Regions from separate parts of the Homo sapiens genome. Here all the other regions are linked to region 7. Evidence: promoter capture Hi-C in 16 types of primary human blood cells and fetal thymus (Javierre and others, 2016). All regions are on one chromosome and are shown on one strand. The core of a region is centred on a gene start or on the middle of the fragment in contact, and the rest is flanking DNA. Distances in the headings are between cores, read along the strand shown. Region 1 has its middle 43 kb from the start of PRPS1. Region 2 overlaps TSC22D3 (TSC22 domain family member 3). Region 3 overlaps TSC22D3 (TSC22 domain family member 3). Region 4 overlaps TSC22D3 (TSC22 domain family member 3). Region 5 has its middle 25 kb from the start of PRPS1. Region 6 has its middle 8.2 kb from the start of PRPS1. Region 7 holds the start of MORC4 (MORC family CW-type zinc finger 4).

The links. The method cuts DNA at HindIII sites, captures the fragments that hold promoters and counts their contacts. A CHiCAGO score of 5 or more calls a contact.
Region 1: a fragment that was not itself captured here is called in contact with the fragment with the promoter of MORC4 in region 7 in 1 of 17 cell types (naive CD4 T cells); the score reaches 5.1 in naive CD4 T cells.
Region 2: a contact is called between a fragment that was not itself captured here and the fragment with the promoter of MORC4 in region 7, in 4 of 17 cell types (total B cells, naive CD4 T cells, naive CD8 T cells and 1 more). The highest score is 6.6, in total B cells.
Region 3: a fragment that was not itself captured here is called in contact with the fragment with the promoter of MORC4 in region 7 in 1 of 17 cell types (naive B cells); the score reaches 5.7 in naive B cells.
Region 4: a contact is called between a fragment that was not itself captured here and the fragment with the promoter of MORC4 in region 7, in 1 of 17 cell types (total B cells). The highest score is 6.4, in total B cells.
Region 5: a contact is called between a fragment that was not itself captured here and the fragment with the promoter of MORC4 in region 7, in 2 of 17 cell types (activated CD4 T cells and total B cells). The highest score is 7.5, in activated CD4 T cells.
Region 6: a contact is called between a fragment that was not itself captured here and the fragment with the promoter of MORC4 in region 7, in 1 of 17 cell types (total B cells). The highest score is 5.7, in total B cells.

Annotation. Positions count from the first base shown.
Region 1 is chrX:107,670,294-107,673,056 of GRCh38, reverse strand. No RefSeq gene overlaps it. Among named protein-coding and RNA genes, the nearest start is that of PRPS1, 43 kb to the right of the region's middle. The HindIII fragment of the contact is 4,714 bases long and covers 1-2,763 here.
Region 2 is chrX:107,769,008-107,771,720 of GRCh38, reverse strand. All of the region lies in intron 1 of TSC22D3 (TSC22 domain family member 3), which reads left to right. Among named protein-coding and RNA genes, the nearest start is that of TSC22D3, 5.4 kb to the left of the region's middle. The HindIII fragment of the contact is 542 bases long and covers 1,145-1,686 here.
Region 3 is chrX:107,752,581-107,755,541 of GRCh38, reverse strand. The region is part of intron 1 of TSC22D3 (TSC22 domain family member 3); the gene reads left to right. Among named protein-coding and RNA genes, the nearest start is that of TSC22D3, 22 kb to the left of the region's middle. The HindIII fragment of the contact is 830 bases long and covers 878-1,707 here.
Region 4 is chrX:107,735,855-107,738,709 of GRCh38, reverse strand. The region is part of intron 1 of TSC22D3 (TSC22 domain family member 3); the gene reads left to right. Among named protein-coding and RNA genes, the nearest start is that of TSC22D3, 39 kb to the left of the region's middle. RefSeq lists an enhancer at 1,340-1,917. The HindIII fragment of the contact is 7,191 bases long and covers 1-2,855 here.
Region 5 is chrX:107,652,115-107,655,045 of GRCh38, reverse strand. No RefSeq gene overlaps it. Among named protein-coding and RNA genes, the nearest start is that of PRPS1, 25 kb to the right of the region's middle. The HindIII fragment of the contact is 612 bases long and covers 1,120-1,731 here.
Region 6 is chrX:107,618,946-107,621,761 of GRCh38, reverse strand. No RefSeq gene overlaps it. Among named protein-coding and RNA genes, the nearest start is that of PRPS1, 8.2 kb to the left of the region's middle. The HindIII fragment of the contact is 345 bases long and covers 1,114-1,458 here.
Region 7 is chrX:106,998,940-107,001,801 of GRCh38, reverse strand. MORC4 (MORC family CW-type zinc finger 4) reads left to right here and starts at 1,590. Exons shown (of 17, transcript NM_024657.5): 1 at 1,590-1,934; 2 at 2,053-2,125. The coding sequence starts at 1,833. RefSeq lists silencers at 1,526-1,605, 1,616-1,825. The HindIII fragment of the contact is 4,977 bases long and covers 1-2,862 here.

The sequences.
Region 1 (2,763 bases), core at 43-2,542, 670 kb before region 7:
CTCTTCAGGCAATAAGCTCTCACTGCTGTTCCTGTCCAGGTGACCAATTTTTGCCATAGGAGGCCCTATTTTTAGACCTCAAAACCCACCACCAATGTCTGGGCTGCAAGCTCAGTGGACCAGGCTGCTGCACGGGCTGTTTTGTTTTTGTTTTCGTGGTGTTTTAAAATTTTTTACCATTTGAATCTCTTTTTTTTTTTTTTGAGATGGAGTCTCTTTCTGTCACCAGGCTGCAGTGCAGTGGCACGATCTTGGCTCACTGCAACCTCCACCTCCTGGGTTCAAGTGATTCTCCTGCCTGCCTCAGCCTCCCAAGCAGCTGGGACTACAGGCGCATGCCACCATGCCTAGCTTTTTTTTTTTTTTTTTTTTTTTTTGAGACAGAGTCTCACTCTGTTGCCCAGGCTGGAGTGCAGTGGCACGACTTCAGCTCACTGCAAGCTCCCCCTCCCAGGTTCATGCCATTCTCCTGCCTCAGCCTCCCAACTAGCTGGGACTACAGGCACCCGCCACCACGCCCAGCTAATTTTTTTTTTTTTTTTGTATTTTTAGTAGAGACGGGGTTTCACCGTGTTAGCCAGGATGGTCTTGATCTCCTGACCTCATGATCCGCCCCCCTCAGCCTCCCAAAGTGCTGGGATAACAGGCGTGAGCCACCGCGCCCAGCCTAAAAATTTTTGCCATTTGAATCATTTTTAAGTGCATAATTCAGTGACAATAAGTACATTTACATTATTCTGCAACAATTACCACTCTCCACCTCCAGAACTCTTTTCATGTTGCAAAACTCCATACCCATTAAACAATAATCCCCCCCACAAACCCGCCCCCAGAGTGAGGGTAGAGAATATACCCATTCTCCCCTCCCCCTAGCCCCTAGTAATCACCATTCTATGTTCTGTCTCTTATGAATTTGACTATTCTAGGTCCCTAATATAAGCAGAATCATGCAATATTTGTCCTTTTGTGTCTGGCTTATTCAGTTAGCATAATCTTCATGTTGTAGCATGTGCCAGAGTTTCTTTCCTTTTAAGGCTGAGTAATTGTCTACTGTATGGATATACCACATTTTGTTTATCCATTCATCCATTGATAGACACTTAAGGGTTGTTTCTACCTTTGGACTATTGTGAAGAATGCTGCTGTAAACACATTGGTGTACAAGTATCTGTCCGAGCCTCTGCTTTCAATTCTTTGGGGTATATACCTAGGAGTGGCTGTTGGGGCCGTTTGCCCATTCCCGAGGCAGCCTAGTGGTCTGGCCCCCCTCAGAAGAAAGTTGCCTTCCCAGCTTTCTGCCCCAGCTCTGCTTTGTCTCTGTGCACACAACAGCACCTCTTGGAAAAGCACCTTCTTTCACCCCACCCTACCCCCCGACCCCGTCACCAATGAGTCCCAGCACCAACTGAGTGGTGACTGGTGACTGGTGAGCCTCTCTGGGCTTCCTGTTCTATTTTTCTACCCAGTGTACTTATGGTCACATTCCCTCCCCTTGAAGACCATGTCAGTCTCTGGTTGCCCTCTTGTCAGCTCCCCAAGAGCCAGGACCACAGCCGCAATGGACTTTTAAAAGTGGGAGACAGGGCCGGGCGCTGTGGCTCACGCCTGTAATCCTAGCACTTTGGGAGGCCGAGGCGAGCTGATCACCTGAAGTCAGGAGTTTGAGACCAGCCTGGCCAACATGGTGAAACTCCATCTCTACTAAATATACAAAAATTAGCTGGGCGTGGTGGCGTGTGCCTATAATCACAGCTACCTGGGAGGCTGAGGCAGGAGAATCACTGGAACGTGGGAGGCAGAGGCTGCAGTGAGCCAAGATCATGCCACTGCACTCCAGCCTGGATGACAGAGCAAGACTCCATCTCAAAAAACAAACAAACAAAAAACTGGGAGACAGTGTGGTACAGCAGTTAAGGGCAGGGGCTCTGGAGCCAGACTGCAAGGGTTTGAATGCTGCCTTGTCTAACACCAGGCAAGCTACTTGACCTTGCCATGCCTGTGTCTCCATCTGTAAAATGGGGATAATAATAATATTTATCTCAAGTGGTTATTAGGAATTAACTGATATACACAAAGCCATCAATGCAGTACCTGGTACATAGTAACGGCTAAATAGCCAGACACAGGCACAGTGGCTCATTCCTGTAATCCCAGCACTTTGGGAGGCCGAGGCAGGTGGATCACTTGAGGTCAGGAGTTCAAGACCAGCCTGGCCAACATGGTGAAACCCTGTCTCTACTAAAAATACAAAAATTAGCCGGGCGTGGTGCTGCGCACCTGTAATCCCAGCTACTCGGGTGGCTGAGGCAGGAGAATCACTTGAACCCAGGAGGCGGAGGCTGCAGTGAGCCCAGATCGCGCCACTGCACTCTAGCCTGGGTGACAGAGCAAGACCTTGTCTCAAAAAATTAATAGCCTAAATAAATGGCAGCTGTTATTTGTTAAGTCCTCTTTCCCTTGCTGCTTCTTTGACAAAAAACATGAGGTAGATAGTGGGAGCCACCTCAGCATGTTTTTCAGGGAGGATTGCTGATGAATTTGCAGACTTCCCTCCCCACTACCCCCCTTCTCCCTGTTGATAGTCTTCTTGGGTCATTGCCCCTCCACCTGTGTGAAATGCTTTTATGAAGTTAGTGTAAACAATATAAAGAATACAATGTTTGTTTTCTTCACTCTGCAGCTCCACACATTGTAGTGATCGTGTGCTCATTACCTGGAGGTCCTGTTGTGCTCCCACTCAGGCCAAATATGGTTCAAGAAGGC
Region 2 (2,713 bases), core at 166-2,665, 770 kb before region 7:
TAACTAATAACCATAACAGATTAATAACTAACACTTCTTGAACATTCACAATGTACCTGCATAATCTAATTTAATATTTACATCAACTCTTTGGAATGGATTTATTTATTTATTTGTTTATTTATTTATTTATTTTGAGACGGAGTCTTGTTCTGTCGCCCAGGCTGGAGTGCAGTGGCACGATCTCAGCTCACTGCAGTCTCCACCTCCTGGGTTCAAGCAATTCCCCTGTCTCAGCCTCCTCAGTAGCTGGGACTACAGGCGCACGCCACCACACTCGGCTAATTTTTGTATTTTTCGTAGAGATGGGGTTTCACCATATTAGTCAGGCTGGTCTCGATCTCCTGATCTCAAATGATCCACCAGCCTCGGCCTCCCAAGGTGCTGGGATTACAGGCATGAGCCACTGCGCCCGACCAAATGGGTACTATTATCATCCATTTTCATTTTATAAAGAAGGAAATTGAGGCTTGGAAAAAATTAAGTATCTTGCCCAATGCCTCACAATGAAGAGCAGAGCCTGAATTGTCTATGAAGAAAGAATTGTTAAGAACACTCAGTAACTAAACTAATGCTAAAGAAATTCTTGTAACACTTAAGAATTGTCTATGAAGCAGAGGTAAATGTGAGCTCAGAACCTTTCCAAATGGTCAAAATGTCCTTATTAGGTAGGGAAACCAACCATCCCAGTCCTGTGACATAGGACTGCCTGTGCTCAAACTGGAACAGTCCTAGGGAAACTGGGATGGTTGGTCACCCTGTTGTTAGGGGACTTCCCCCTTGTCATTTGAATATGCTTCTAATACTGGAAAACTTAGGAGGGAGATAGAATATTCTGGGCAAACAGCAGAAGTTTCCAATTTAAATGTAGCATATGAAAAAGCTTCCCAAGTTGACATTTGAAGAGCCTTCCTTAATTTTTCTGACCTGTAAGGTATAACAACCTGTAACAGGAGCTTTGACAGTATTCGTTGTGATTGCTGTTGCTGTAACCTCAAATTTTTTTCTAAGATTTTACCCAAAACCTCTTAATCAGCTCTATTCTACCTTTGACCCCAGAGCGTACCTGGCTAGTGTGGTCTGAAATACTCTGAATCCGATTTCCCTTCCAGCTCTAAAAACCCTAGGATTCTACCTTTAAGCTTCTGACCTGGCCCCAACTGGTTCCCATATATAAATGCTCAGAAAATGATAAAAATAGCAAACATTTCTAATTGCTTTATGTGTGCTAATTCATTTAATATCCCCTATTAATATAGTAACAAAGGGGAAGGATATAGATTCAGAGATCAGGTTTTCAAGAAAAATTTGTGCAAAAAATTATTTGTGCTTCTCTAAGTGAGTCTCAGAACAAGTAATTTCATAATGTATATTCCTGGACCTGGCTTCTGAGGTGGTGGCCACTCACACGGCATGATTTGAGTGGCTGCCTGCTGCAGTGCCTAAGTTCATACTATTTAAGATTCAGTTCTCTGTCCATGTACCATCTAAAATTCCTCTCCCAGAGCACCGCTGGTATGTAGACCACACTGTGAGAAACCCTGTATTAGAGATTGCAACGCATTGTCAACTAATTTACCATTTGATTTTGAGGATGGAGTTACTCGCTGTAGAGCGGTTTTGGGTTTCTGTGTGGTTAAGCCTGTCATTCTTTGCCTTTGTGATTTTTGCTTTTGGTATCAAGCTTCAAAAGTCCTTTCATAGCCCAAAGTAATTTAAAATAACTATTTCCTGAGTGCCTAGTGGTCTGACAAAGAATAGGCATTCTTGGATTAAGGGACCTTCTCCATTAAAAGCACAAATGCATTTGCAAACTTAACATTCATGGTTTGGATACTTCATGAGAACTCAGACTGGTAAGAAACTGTGTTTTTGCTGAGGCACAGATGTGAATCACATGTGCAAGGAGACTAGTAGGTGGGGGCCGGTCCTTTCACCAATGAGTGAGCCTGGTGCCCTACCCCACATCTACTAGTGTGTGTGTGTGTGTGTGTGTGTGTGTGTGAAAGAGAAAGAGAGAGATGTATTATATGCATATATTGTACATAGTACATATATATATATAGTGGTAAAATAGATATAAAATTTGCCATTTTAACCATTTCTAAGTGTACGATTCAGTAGCATTAGGTATATTAACAATGTTGTGCAACCATTATCATTCCCAAAATTTTGTCATCATCCCAAACAAAAACTCTGTACCCATTAAAGAATAACTCACCGTTTCCCTATTTTCCCCTCCCACTACCCCCTGGTAACCTCTATTCTACTTTCTGTCTCTATGGATTTGCCTATTTAGATATTTCATATAAATTGAATCATACAATATTTTGTGTCTGATTTCTTTCACTCAACATGTTTTAAAGTTCATCCATGTTGTAGCACATATCAGTACTTCATTCTTTTTATGGCTGAATAAAATTCCATTGTATGGATATACCTCTTTTGCTTATCCATTCATCTGTCAGTGGACACTTAGGTTGTTGCCCTCTTTTGGCTATTATGAAGAATGCTGCTATGAACACTGGTGTACAAGTATCTGTTCAAGTCCCTGCTTTTAATTCTTTGGGGTATATACCTAGGAGTGGCATTGCCCAGCACCTACTTTTCAACACAATTTTGTGGTCTACTGCTCGTAGTCAACACATACGTAGGAACCTGTCATAAAATGAGCAAATGTCTCAGGGCATTCCTTGAGGAGAATGCTCCCTCT
Region 3 (2,961 bases), core at 43-2,542, 750 kb before region 7:
ATGATTATTAGTCCTGCTTCCTCCTAGGGCTCACCTTGTGGATTTCACGAAGGCAAGCCCTGGAGAGAAGCAGAAAGACGATGAAGGTTCTGGGTCTGGTCTCCTGCCTTCTGTCTGGGTTACACCTCAGGAGCCTTGTGTGTCTTTCCTATGTTGGCCAGTCCCTTGAACAGTTTTTAGCAAAAGCCTCAAGCAGAGACAGTTGATCTTCAAACACCTCCAAGAAAGGAAATACCACAAAGTCCTTTGTTCATACATTCCAGTGTTTAACAACTTCTGCTCTCTGACATTATTCCTCCTAATTCTGTCCTCCAGCTTTCCTATGCTTAATAAATTTAATATGCTTAAATTGTAGTTATCCCATCCCTTGTCGGTCTTACTTTCCAAATTAGCTAAATCCATTTTTTTAAAGAAAAAAGTTTGAACTTTCATTTCTCCATCTTTTAGATAATGTCCAAGTTATCCACCAGAGATTTCATTCTGTCCTCTGTAACAGCTGAGATTGTGGCATGAAAACCTTTGCCCTTAGCCAGTCACCCAAATCCATCCTCTGATCAGTGACACACATTTGCAAGATAGCAGGTTAGGAAAGGAGCAAAATTAACCCATTTAGGCCTGGTGTTCCATTATTGGAACGCTAAGCTTGTGGGAGTTATTTATATCCTACTGCTCAAGGTTATCGCCAAGGTCTGATTTTTCACGAAAAAAAATTTGCAATCTCTGTCATAAATGGGTTAACTGAACTGCAGAGGACGCAATCACCTGCCCTAACCCCCAAGCTAGCTGTTTTACAGGAAACTGTAGCTGTGTAAGATTTCATTAGTGGCCAATGACCATGGAATAGAGAAGGAAGACGACTTCATAGTTCCTACAAGCTTCTTTCCTATTTAGAGCATCCAGGGTCATGCTTGTTCCTTAATGATACTAAATTGTGTGCTAGCAACTCATTGCAGCCTCTGCTCTTAGCTGCCTACCCACATAGCCCCATTCTTGTATCTGGGTAGAGTTTTGATTATTCCTATATTCATTATCCATTTTGTGGATTATCTATAGCAATCACAAAATTCCAGGCTGCCCCCCACCGACCTTCTAGCTAGTTTCTGGGAACTCTGGGGTGCAGGATCACTTTGATACCAGCCCAAGTAGTGCATAAAGAAAGTTTTTTCAAAAATAAATTACCCACTCACAAATGGATTCCAAATCCAAGTATGGCTGAGTTTCACATGGCTAGGGTAACATAGGACATGTGGCATGGATAATCCAAAATAAGAGATAATGTAGGAGAAACATCATGTCTAGCTAGCTTTGAAATTGCACCATGATAGGCCAGGCGCGGTGGCTCACGCTTGTAATCCCAGCATTTGAGAGGCCGAGGTGGGAAGATCATGAGGTCAAGAGTTCGAGACCAGCATGGCCAACATAGTGAAATCCCCGTCTCTACTAAAAATACAAAAAAAAATTAGCTAGGCGTGGTGGCACGCTTCTGTAATCCCAGCTACTCGGGAGGCTGAGACAGGAGAATCACTTGAACCTGGGAGGCGGAGGTTGCAGTGAGCCAAGATCTCACTACTGCACTCCAGCCTGGGCAACAGAGTAAGACTCCGTCTTAAAAAAAAAAAAAAAAGGAAGAAAGAAATTGCACCATGGGTCTAACTTTTTTCAGTAGATCTGCCTTCTTAATTATTTGGGCTGATATGAAAATAAGCTTGCACCCCTGGAGTATACAGAAACTAGAAGAAACTGGATGTAGGGAGAAGCTAAGCTGAGACCAAGCATTGCCACTGCTATTTCACAAAATGGAAAAGCCACCTAGAAATACTTGGGAGTTGATTTTCAAGCATACTGAAGTCATTTCTGTGTGTCTTTGAAATATGTCATATGGTTGTGGATGCTGTGGATTTGTCCATGAAGACCTAAGGGGTCTGCGTAATGGTACCTAGTTTGACTTGGGGAGACAGATCCAAGGAGTTACCAGGAAATCGATAGTTCCCTTCTTCTTCCTAACTATAACCTGATGGCTGTATCACAATGCCTGGTCTGATCGTCTGACCCATGTGAGTCTGAAAGTGGTGGCGCAATTCATCTGAGGAAAATCACATCTGAAACAGGAAGGGGCACGGCAGCCTCTTCAGCCAAGGATTTATGTATCTGTCACAGGAGGGAAGTGTGAGCTGAGAAATGACTCCCAGAAGTGCTAGAATTGGAAGAGGCAGCACTGCTACCTATCATAGTCAGCAGTGTATTCATGGGGAATCTATGCTACCTCAGGAGGCCAGCATCCTGGCCCTTCCTCCCTTCCCTGAGTCCATCCTCCCTCCTCTCTCCTCTCTGGCTCAGCAAGCACTTAAGAAAACAGAGCTGAGCTAGCCAGGTGCACCCTGTCAGTGGCCAAGCAGTAGGTAAAGGGAAGGATAGGAGAGGCTTGTACTGCTCCTGGCCTGGCATTTAGAGGCCCAGGGGACAAGTCCCAGGCCCTTGAGCCAGCCACAGTAGGCTTGCAGCTGATGCCATGTCACCATGGCTGAAGCTAGTGGCAACCTGAGTGGATGGGGCTTCTCTGGTTCCTGCAGCCCACAGAGACCAACAAATTCACTCAGTTGGGTTCTGTCTAGACTTAATTCTTGCTGTCTTTGTGAATTGATTTTTACATTCTGGCCTGCTGTGCGTATCTTGGCTATGGGATCTCTTGCTGAGCCTGGGACAGAGTCTTTTCTTCCTGCCCCTTCTCCTCTGCAAGGCTGCCGGACCAGCTCCCTTGGCAACCTCATTAGGCTCCAGTGGTGTCCGTGGGGAATCTAAACTGGGCAGCAGTGATCCATCTTTAGGGCTCTCATCCATCCAGGTGGCTCCTAACCTCTCCAACGCAAAGGGACTCCAGCTGAAAAATCAAAACCAGCCTTCTTTGGGAGCCCCACTCATTGTTTGAGACAGGCTACGAGAAAGTCCACACCTCCAGGCATA
Region 4 (2,855 bases), core at 172-2,671, 740 kb before region 7:
CAGAGTAGCCTGTTCTCCCCCTCCCTTTACCTAGGTCTGGCCCCATGGGCAGCAGAAGGCCAGACTCCCTATGCCCCATATGGCTGAACTGCCAACTGGTGTTGAATAGAAACATCTCGCCCATGAAAACTAGTGGGGTGTGGGGCATGTGCCTCCAGGAGGTGCAGACTGGGCACAAAGGGCAAGAGAGGAGAGGGAGCGGCAGCGGGGTCTGGTGGCAAGAGTGCCAGGCCAGGATCCAGGAAACCTGGGCTGTGCTCCCAGCCTCTACCACCAACTCCCTTGGCGTCCTTGAGCAAGATCACCCAGAGGGCAGGGTTGGGGGAGCAGGCACAGGGCCAAGACCTTGCCTAGGAGAAGATGAGCTGCAAAATTTTGTTCATGCATTCAAGAGGTAGGGATGGGGTGTTTAACCAGGAAAACTCTCCGCTGAAAAGCTACCTAATTGCCTTTAAATGCTTTAGATGTGTCTTGACCAGCAAGGGAACCAAACTCAGGTGCCCAGGGGACATATCAGAAAAGACGGGGCTGCTTCTCCCAAAATGCCTGTCCCTTGACTTGCTTGGGAGGCCAACAGGCAGTGATCCCTGCTGCTAGGACCAAGACCAGAGGACACAGTTGTTTCTTAGCTATGGAAAGCCCTGGAATTGTCCTCACTTCTGCCCCTTGCAGCCAGCCAGGACAACTTATCTGGGATGTAGTGTTTGTTCCTGGTCGTAGGAGTTCATATGGAAAGGGCATCTCTCAGCTCACCACCCCAGGCACCCATGCATCAATATCCCAGTGTCCAGGGACCCACACGATGGCACACACTTATTCCCAGGACCTAAATTCACATCTCTTTGCTGAGCTTTCTCTGCCTGGTAGCAACAAATCTGCCATTGATCTGGCCCTGTTTTCTCAATGGGAACTCATGGGGTGCAATGGTCTTTGATAGCACAAAACACGTTGAGAAAAGCTACCAGTGTCTGACACAAAGTAGGGGCTCAATAAATTTTTGTCAAATGAATCCAGGTTGGAATCAACTCACAATACTTTCATATGAAGGACTTCATTTAATGGGAGAAAGTACAGGCTGTGCAGTAGGACCAGTTTGGGAGCAGGAAGAAGCCTGTTTGAAAAAAAAGAAAAAAAGCAGCATGGAGGCAGCCACCCTCTTTGTGCACGGAGGGAAGGTAGAATATACCCATGGTGTGTAGTGGGGAGGATGTCTGGGAAAAGGGCCAACATCCACTCCAGTCTGAGAGCCTCAGACACTTCCCAGTGCAGGAAGACCCCATGGTGGTGTCTAATTGGCTTTCTGGTTGTTCTCTTACTTAGCGAAACCCCTGTGTGACAAAGCTGGGACAGGGTTGAGCTTCCAGAATCTCTACTGGAGTTTTGAGTAGCTCCTGGTTATTTCCAACCAGGTGCCAGTTGCCAGGGAGGGCCTTGAATCTGAATAACATTGCCTGGGGGAATAAGGAGGGACTTGGCCAGGATCTTCACAAGTCATTTATACCTCAGCATGCCCCTTGTCCCCCATTGGTCCAGGGGCCCTGGGAGCCGTGGTCTGGCCTTTGCAACTTCCCTTGCTGGATTCCTGTGTTGTCTGTGCCTTCACAGCAGGGTGGGTGAGAGAGACCGGCCCAGGAGGAAAAAACAAACAAAGGAAAGGTCTCTGGGTCTGTTGACGTTATAAGTGCTATTGATTTTCCAAGATTTTTCCATTGAGAGGACAGTTAACTGACCTCGTTTTGCAGCCCATTTGGGCTTTGACGCCACTCTCTAGGCCATGAACTGAGAATTGGAGAGGCTATGACTTTATCTCAACACATACTTGATAGTCACCGCCCTCAGCAAGGCCAAATTGGGCTTCCCGGGGTGGGATGTGAGAGGATGTGGGTGGTTCCAGGCCTCTCAGCTCCTTCTACTTTTCCCCAGGGACATTGTGTGACCCTGGGCCCAAGCACTCTCAGATCTTGCTGGATCTGGTCATGCCTGGAAGGGGGCTTTTCAAGCAAGAACGGCCATAAAAATCGAGCACAGACCGAAAGACGATGGTTGGAAGAGCTCTGAACTAGGAGCTGGTGACTTGGCCTTGCATCCCAGGTGTGCCACTAATTAGCTGTGTGATTTCAGGCACTCTGTTTTCCCTCTCCTGGTCTCAGTTTTCTCGTCTGTTAAGTGATAGGTAGAGGTCCCTTCCAGTTCTAAAATCCAGCAGGCTTGTTAAGAAAAATGCAGACGTTAGGAATGAGGAGAAGAATATAAAGAAGAGAGAAAGGGACAAGATTGTAAAATTCCACGACAGCACAGAAGGGGAAAATGGGGAGAGAAAGAGAGGTGTGCTGCATTGTGGTGTAGTGGGAGTGGCCCCAAGTGGAGGCTTGGAGACCAAGATCCTGTTCCCAATTCTATCACTAATGAGCTGTGTGACCTTAGGCAGGTCACTTCCCTCCTCTGTACCTCATTCAAGTGAGAGGAATGAGTTAGCCCCTTACCACTCAGGCTGCTTTGTTGTTGGGAAAACTAGATACACACATAGCAAACAATTAGAGAACAGAATCAGTGCTCAGAGGTGTGTCATGGAAAAGAGGTACACTTGGAGAAGGGGATGGTGATGGTGGCTGGCGAGCCAAGGCCTAAAGGGCAAGGGAGCAGAGTAAAAGAGCAGAGGCTCTGGAATTACACAGGCCTGGTTAGAGTATTGGCTCTGTCCCTACCTGTCTGTGTGACCTTGGGCAAGTCATTGGCTCTACCCAAATTTCAGTTTCCTCACCCCAAAAAAGCAGGGAATTGAACTAGTTCATCTTCAGAGTTCCTTTCATCTCTTTGAATATGTAAAAAAACAAAACACAACAAAAAGAAGCCAG
Region 5 (2,931 bases), core at 176-2,675, 650 kb before region 7:
TAAAATTGGGCTGTGTGGCTCCAGGCTGCTTACAAGCGGGAAAATCTCTGCTCAGCATATTACCCAGGAGGAATGGATTGGTCAGACCTGGCTGGCCTGTTTTGTTTTATATTCAAACCCTGAATCAGAGCCACACCATGAGTGAGCTCATGGCAACTCTATGGGTGAAGCAACAAGAACCCAGCCGCAGCAGTTAGTGGACACGCCAGAGGGGGGAGGGGTGGGGACTTGGCTAAGAAGATAAAATCTTGAGCCAGTCAGAAAACAACAACAAAAAACACAATGGGGCTGAGGGAATAAGGCCTATTGTCACCCTGTACAGTTTCAGCTATTTTTGCTTCAAAATGAGCTTCCCCTTATTTTTTATAGTTGGCAGCTGAGCTATTGGAGGAATGAATATATTGGGGAAGAAAAGCTCAGGAAAGGGGAAGGATGGGGAGAGAAGTCTGACTGTCAGTGGAGAGTCTCTGGTTTTCCTTAGGGCACGGGGTGGGGGGACAGTAGACCAAGGAGTGGGCATACAGTAGCCCATGAGCAGTGAGGACTAGGGAAGGAGGAGCCACACCCACATGGGCAGGTTTCTGAGTCTCAGGCTCATTCCTGCCTCAGCCTCCCAAAGTGCTGGGATTACAGGTGTGAGCCACCGCACCCACACACTATTTTATTTATTTATTTCCTGGCTCCTAGAACTGAACACTTATTTTAAAAAATAACTTTATAGGACGGGCACGGTGGCTCACGCCTGTAATCCCAGCACTTTGGGAGGCTGAGGCAGGTGGATCACTTGAGGTCAGGAGTTCAAGACGAGCCTGACCAACATGGTGAATCCCCATCTCTACTAAAAATACAAAAATTAGCCAGGTGTGGCGGCGGGCACCTGTAATCCCAGCTTCTTAGAAGGCTGAGGCACGAGAATCACTTGAACCTGGGAGGCGGAGGTTGCAGCGAGCCGAGGTTGCACCACTGCACTCCAGCCTGGGCTAAAGTGAGACTCTGTCTTAAACCCAAACTTTAAAACTTTATAGCAACAAATAGCAGTTGAAGAGTTGTAAAGAGTCAAGTAAATGTTATAAACACAAAAAGAAATGCTCGAGCCAAGATTTTACAGAGTATCAAGCTTTATCTGCCATAATTTGGAGCACAATTTGCTTTATTCTTAAACAAGGAGTCTCAGAGTGGTAAAAAAAAAAAAAAAAAAAAAAAAATCTGCAAGAGAAAAACAAGTCTCCAAACACAGTGGAGGCAAAGCAGAGGGGGAATCTCTGGCTGTAGCACTCTTGCTTTTTAAACCACCACTGCCAAGACAGAAGCCACTTGTTTCAAACAGCAGCATCCATTCTATGTCATACCCCCTCACCTCCCTGCATTCTCAGGACCAGAGAAGAAGCTCAGCAACTCTGTAAGTTGGTGCCTCTATAAAAGATTTTTTTCATCTAAGTTGGGGCTGCTAGTCCTGGTCTTCTTTCCAGATTTGGATACCAAGTGTTTTCTGCTGAAAGTGTTAACTTGTATACTAATCGCATGTAGCCCTTAACAACCTGAAGGCATTAAAATCATAAAAAGCCTGAAATCCCAGAAAAGCATCATTTTCCTATTGCCATGCCCTCCTGCCATCTCATCCTTACTAGTTCTCAGTTGTGGGGGAGAACAAAGAGGCCTCTTAAAGGGAATCTGGTTATTGGAGGCACCTACCTTACAAAAAACTTGAAGTGAGGCTGAGGGGAGGAAGCTTTGCATTACTGCCCTGGGGACCACCACTCATAGAGATGTTGAGTAAACACATTCTGTGTGTGAAAAGCAGCCATTACATTAGGTCAGGAAACAGAGCCAGCCTCCTACCCCTGCTTTAGTCTGTACCTCCATTCTTCAGACAGGTGTTCAAGGGCAATCATGTAGCTATCACAACTAGAGTTTCTTGTCAACTGTGCTCGCTGCAACTCCACTTAGCTTTGGTGCTGCCTCCTCCTCATGCCCTGGCAGGTCTGCTCCTGCTACTATTCCCCACAGTCAAGAACTGCTTTGAGGCTAGGCACCGTGGCTCATGCCTGTAATCCCAGCACTTTGGGAGGCTGAGGCGGGTGGATCACCTGAGGTCGAGAGTCCGAGACCAGCCTGGACAACATGGTAAAACACCATCTCTACTAAAAATACAAAAATTAGCCAGCTACTTGGGAGGCTGAGGCAGGAAAATCACATGAATCCGGGAGGCGGAGGTTGCAGTAAGCCGAGATCGTGCCACTGCACTCCAGCCTGAGCAACAGAGCGATGCTCTGTCTCAAAAAACAAAAACAACAAAAACAAAAAACAACTGCTTTGAAAGGGATCAAAGTTGGGGACTGGGCCTTTTTTGAATAATCTCAAAACCTCATCCTAGGAAATGAATTACCCAAAGGGGCCCACAAGAGAGATCTTAATGTCAAAATATTCTGTAACAATGAGACCTGACCCACTGATCCAATACTTTAGGAAATAGCATGATGAGCAAGTGAAGGCATTGGTGCTTCACATCAGCTTCTCCCAGAGCAAAAATCTGAGATTAAAGAGGTCTAGAGGGTTAGAGGCGCACATTTCATAGTATACTTTAGTCCCTCCTGAATCACTTTTATCAAAGAGCTAGCTGTAAAATAGATATCCCGATATCCAACAAAAGCAAAAACAAAATAAACAAAAGTAGACCTGGGCTTCACAAATAAGGAAGCACTCTTCATGAAGCTCTGTAGCCATGTAGCTTCCCAAAGTAAAAGAGCACCCTTATTTGATGATGGGCCAAGAAACTCACTCACTTAAGGCCGCCATGGTGGCTCATGCCTGTAATCCGAGCACTCTGTGAGGCCAAGGTGGGCGGATCACTTGAGGCCAGGAGTTTGAGACCAGACTGAGCAACATGGCAAAACCCTGTCTCTACTAAAAATACAAAAATTAGCTAGGTGT
Region 6 (2,816 bases), core at 37-2,536, 620 kb before region 7:
ACCATCCTGGCTAACACGGTGAAACCCCGTCTCTACTAAAAATACAAAAAATTAGCCGGGCATGGTGGTGGATGCCTGTAGTCCCAGCTACTCAGGAGGCTGAGGCAGGAGAATGGCATGAACCCAGGAGGTGGAAGTCGCAGTGAGCTAAGATTGGGCCACTGCACTCCAGCCTGGGCGACACAGCGATATTCCGTCTCAAAAAAAAAAAAAAAAAAAAAGAAAGAAGTTCTGCTGTGGCTAAAATGTTATCAAACAGCATTTTATGCTACAGATAAATCTTTTGTGAAAGGAAGTCAATCAATGTGGCAAATTTAATTGTTGTATTTTTTAGAAAATTTTTATAGCCAACCCACCCTTTAGCAGCTGCCACCTAATCAGTCAGCAGCCCTCAGTGTTGAGGCAAGATCCTCCACCAGCAAAAAGATTACTACTTGCTAAAGGCTTAGATGATCATTAGCATTTTTTAGCAATAAAATTTTTTTGTTTGTTTGTTTTTGGTTTTGGCTTTTTTTTTTTTTTTTTTTTTGAGACAGAGTCTCACTCTGTCACCCAGGCTGGAGTGCAGTGGCATGATCTTGGCTCACTGCAACTTCCGCCTCCCGGGTTCAAGCGATTGTCATGCCTTAGCCACTTGGGTGGCTGGGATTACAGGTGCGCACCACCACTATCGGCTCATTTTTGTATTTTTAGTAGAGACAGGGTTTTGCCATGTTGACCAGGCTGGTCTCAAATTCCTGGCCTTAAGTGATCTGCCCACCTTGGCTTCCCAAAATGCTAGGATTACAGGCATGAGCCACCATGCCCAGCCTACCATAAAGTATTTTTTAATTCAGGTATTGATATGGTTTGGATATGTGTTTCCTCAAAATCACATGTTAAAATGTAATCCCCAGTTGGAAATTGTTCTGGTGAGAGATGTTTGGGTCACTGGGGTAGATCCCTCGTGAATGGCTTAGTGCTGTACTTGCAATAGTGATTGAGTTCTTTATTCTGAGTTCATGGGAGATCTGGTTGTTTTAGAGTGTGGCACTTTTCCCCTTTGTTCCCTTGCTTCTGCTCTTGCCATGTGACATGCTGGCTCCCTGTCACCTTCTGCCATGATTGGAAGCTTCCTGAGGTCCTCACCAGGAGCAGATGCCAGCACCACACTTCCTATAAAGCCTGCAGAGCTGTGAGCCAATTAAATCTCTTTTTCTTTATAAATTACCGAGACTCGGGTATTTCTTTATAGTAATGCAAAAAAACAGCCTAATATAGGCACGTACTTGTTATTTTAGACATAACGCTATTGCAGACTTAACAGACTACAGTATAGTGTAAACGTAATTTCTATATGCACTGGGAAATCAAAAAAATTCATGTGATTTGCTTTATTGCAATGTTTGATTTACTGTGGTGGTTTGGAACTGAGCCCACAATATCTCCAAGGTATGCCTGTAAATTATCATAGAAGCTTGGACTCATTAGTTTAAAACTAAACACAGGCTGGATGCAGTGGCTCACTCCTGTACTGCCAGCACTTTGGGAGGCCAAGGTGGGCGGATCACAAGGTCATAAGTTCAAGAGCAGCCTGGCCAACAGCCGGGCATGGTGGCATGCACCTGTAATCCTAGCTACTTGGGAGGCCGAGGAGAAAAATTGCTTGAATCCAGGAGGCAGAGGTTCCAGTGAGCTGAGATTGCATCACTGCACTCCAGCCTGCGTGACAGAGCAAGACTCTGTCTGGGCAGTGGGGCGGGTTGGGAACTAAACATTCCATTACGGCAAAAACTAAGTGCTGTAATCTGATTTGCTAACTGTAGAATGTAAACGTGTGTGGAAAGAATGTTATCTTTGCTCCTTATTTCTCTCTAGAAAGATAAGCACAATCAGGGTATGTGGGCAAGGAATTACTCTTTGAGAGATTTAATTTTTTATTTTTATTTATTTATTTAGTTAGTTAGTTAGTTGAGACAGAGTCTGGCTCTTGTCACCCAGGCTGGAGTGTAGTGGTGCAATCTCGGCTCACTGCAACCTCAGTCCACCTCCCAGGTTCAAGCGATTCTCCTGTCTCAGTCTCCTGAGTAGCTGAAATTACAGGCACCCATCACCATGCCCGGCTAATTTTTTGTAGTTTTAGTAGAGACAGGGTTTCGCCATGTTGGTCAGGCTGGTCTCAAACTCCTGACCTCAAGTGATCCACCCGCCTCAGCCTCCCAAAGTGCTGGGATTACAGACATGAGCCACCTCGCCGGGCAAGAGATTTAATTTAAATCTCTTTGAGGAGATTTGAATTAAAATACTTTAGGAAAAAAAAATGTCCTCAGCCAGGCATGGTGGCTCATGCCTGTAATCCTGGCACTTTGGGAGGCCGAGGCAGGTGGATCACCTAAGGTTAGGAGTTCGAGACCAGCCTTGCCAACATGGTGAAACCCCGTCTCTACTAAAAAAAAAAAAAAAAAAAAAAAAAAAACCAGAATTAGCCGGGTGTGGTGGTGCATGCCTGTAATCTCAGCTACTTGGGAGGCTGAGGCAGTAGAATTCCTTGAACCCAGGAGGTGGAGGTTGTAGTGAGCTGAGATTGTGCCACTGCACTCCAGCCTAGGCAACAAGAGCTAAACTCCGTCTCAAAAAAAAAGAAAGAAAAAAAGAAAGAAAGAAAAAGAAAAGACGGCCGGGCACGGTGGCTCACGCCTGTAATCCCAGCACTTTGGGAGGCCAAGGCAGGCGGATCACGAGGTCAGGAGATCGAGACCATCCTGGCTAACACGGTGAAACCCCATCTCTACTAAAAATACAAAAGATTAGCCGGGCGTGGTGGCGGGCACCTGTAG
Region 7 (2,862 bases), core at 341-2,840:
CTTATGACCTAATTACTTGGCAAAGGCCCCAACTCCTAATCCCAATACCTAATACCATCATATTGGGAGTTAGGATTTCAACATACAAATTTTGGCGGGGCACAAATGTTCAGTCCATTGCAGCAGGTGTGGCAGTCTTGATAATTACTGCATCTGAGTAATAAGTACATGGGATTCATTATATTGTTTTCTGTACTTTTGTGTATTTTAAAAAATTGAAGAAAAGATAACTAAAAAACAGACAAATGTAAAGCACCCAATGGGGGTAAAAAATGATGCTCAAAGGACATAAACAGGCATTTGTAGAAGAGGAGATGCAAATGTATACTAAACATTTGAAAAGATATTCAGCCTTACTGGTAGTCAGGAAAATGCAAATTAAAACAATAAGGAGATACTATTTTTTATTGAAAAGACTATCAAAAAGTTAAAAGATTGGGACCATCTAGTGCTATGAACATGACAAAAGAGCACTGATTGTTGCTGGGAGGGCAAATTGCCTATCTTACAGTATTTATTAAGATTAAACCATGCACATGCTATTAGATGCAGCAGTCTCATCTTTTGGAATTCATTCTGTGGAGATAACAGTATCAGAAATTAATGACCTGTACACGAGTGTGTGAAGGAGCATTTTTTGTATTGTCAAAATTAAAAAAAGAGGACAACCTAAATTACCATAAAGGAATGGTCAAATAAATTATAGTTCATTCATGCCATAGAACATTACATATGTTTTTAATGAATCTGTTTTTCTATTATCAGTGTATATTTATAGTATATTAGAAAACACAGGTAAGAAAAAAGGAAAAAGTGTCTAGTTCCAGACCCAGAGATATCATCTTGGTGTATATCAAGTGGTTTTCGTTGTGTGTGTGTGTGTGTATATATATATGTATGTATGTATGTGTATATGTGTGTATGCATGCATATATATATATGTATATATGTATACATATATATTTGTTTTTCCAATAGAAAAGGCATCATGCGTTCCACAATATGTTGTAACTCCTTGTTTTCTTCATTCCTTCATGAATATTTTTCTACATCAACACATACTTATCTACAAACATGGCCTTCAAGAACTGGATGGTATTTCATTTTATGCATACTTCATAACTCGACCAATCCCCTACTTGGCGGTATTTAAGTGAATCCAATTTCTCCTTTTAGAAACACCGTCCCTGCATGCTAGCAAGACTTTGGAGATAGTTTGCTAATTGCCTTCCAGAAAGTTCTGGGTGCTTCTGGAGGCATTTGAGGCAGAGTAGGTAGAATGTTTTCCCATCAGGCGAGCTTGCTATCTTCCCAGATAGCAACACTGTAGTCTTTAGAACTTGAAAGACTTGTCTTATCTTGCCTGTTAGTCATGCAGCCTAAGCGGGACTAGGTTCCAGAAATCCCATACATGCTCTCCCTCCTCTTGCTTCATTCACGCCCCTCCCCACGCGCCACCCCCGCCCCCCGCGCTTTCCCGCTCGGCGGCCTGGCCTATGGCATACGCCAATAATTAATTAGGGGCGGGGATCAAGGAGCGGCTGTCAGGAGGTCGCCATATTTCTGTACGGCCCAGAGGCAGCCCGGGCAGTCGCCGGGTCGGTAGAGGTGCTGACAGGGCGGAGCCGCCGCTTGCCTCAGCCGGCCTCACCCCTCCCGCCCGGGACAGGTGGCTGGAGCGCGCTCCGCCTCCGCCAGCTGCGAGTGGGAGCGAGGGAGGGCCGGTCCCGGACGGTCGCCGCCAGCTGCGAGTGGAAGTGAGCGAGGGCTAGTCCCGGACCGCCGGGCCAGGGGTCCGGCGGCAGCAGACGGGTACCGTGGCGGCCAAAAAAATGCTCCTGTACCGAGGGGCCCCCGCCGGCCCTGGCGCGCCGGGCTGCGGGCTGGCCCGGCCCGGCGGCGGCCCGCAGGCCTTCGGGATCCGCCTGAGCACGGTAGGTCCGGGGCCCGAGGGGGCGGACGCGCGCGCGGGCCCCTGGGCTGCGGGGGGCGCGCGGGGAGGGCCCGGCGGGCCGAGGCCTCACGCGGGTCGGGACCTTCTCTCGCCCCCAGATGAGCCCCCGCTACCTCCAGAGCAACTCCAGCAGCCACACGCGACCCTTCAGTGCCATCGCGGAGCTGCTAGGTGAGTGGCGAGGGCGGGCCCGGCCGTGTTCGCCCGAGGCAGTGGTGCCAGCGTGGTGCCGCGGACGCGAGAGGAATGCGCAGAGCCGCGCGGGGCGGGCCGGGGCTGGGGTGGGGGCCTCGGAACCGGCCCCGGCTCCGCAGGCGGAGGAGGGGGATGGCTCTCTCGCCAGGAACTAGGTTCCGCTCATAAAACGGAGGAAACGAGGTGTGTCTGAAGCGTTAAAGACACCAGTGTGGTTTTTCTCTCGCGCTCGTGACGTTCGGGCACTTTAGGATAGCTTAGTTAGTAATCAAAAGGAGATGCATAAAAACCTCGGGCCCTGAGGCAGCTGGGTCCGCAGGGGCTGGCGACCGACGGAGGATGCCTAGCTAGCAAAGGGGCGTAGAGGACCGAGGCGGGTCCTGGGGAAAGGTCTGGAAAGCGGAGTTCCTTAACTTTTGAGACAAGAAAAGTTAGGAATGATGGGACATCTCTTAAGAGATGACACGAGTGCATTTGGCTCCCTGCTACTGCGGAGGGCTGGGTCCGTGGTCCACGAGCGCCCTCACACCGCTGGAATGAATATTGAGGACTTAACCTCTCGCTCCACCGGTGTTTGCTTTTAAAGTGTTTTCAGTTGATCCCTTCAAGCCAATTACACCAGTTTTTGCAGTAGTGTGCTACTGTGTGGAAAGCAAAGAAGAAACGCAGTCCTGCACAAAACGCAGCAGCATACAGGGCGCATTATACATGCT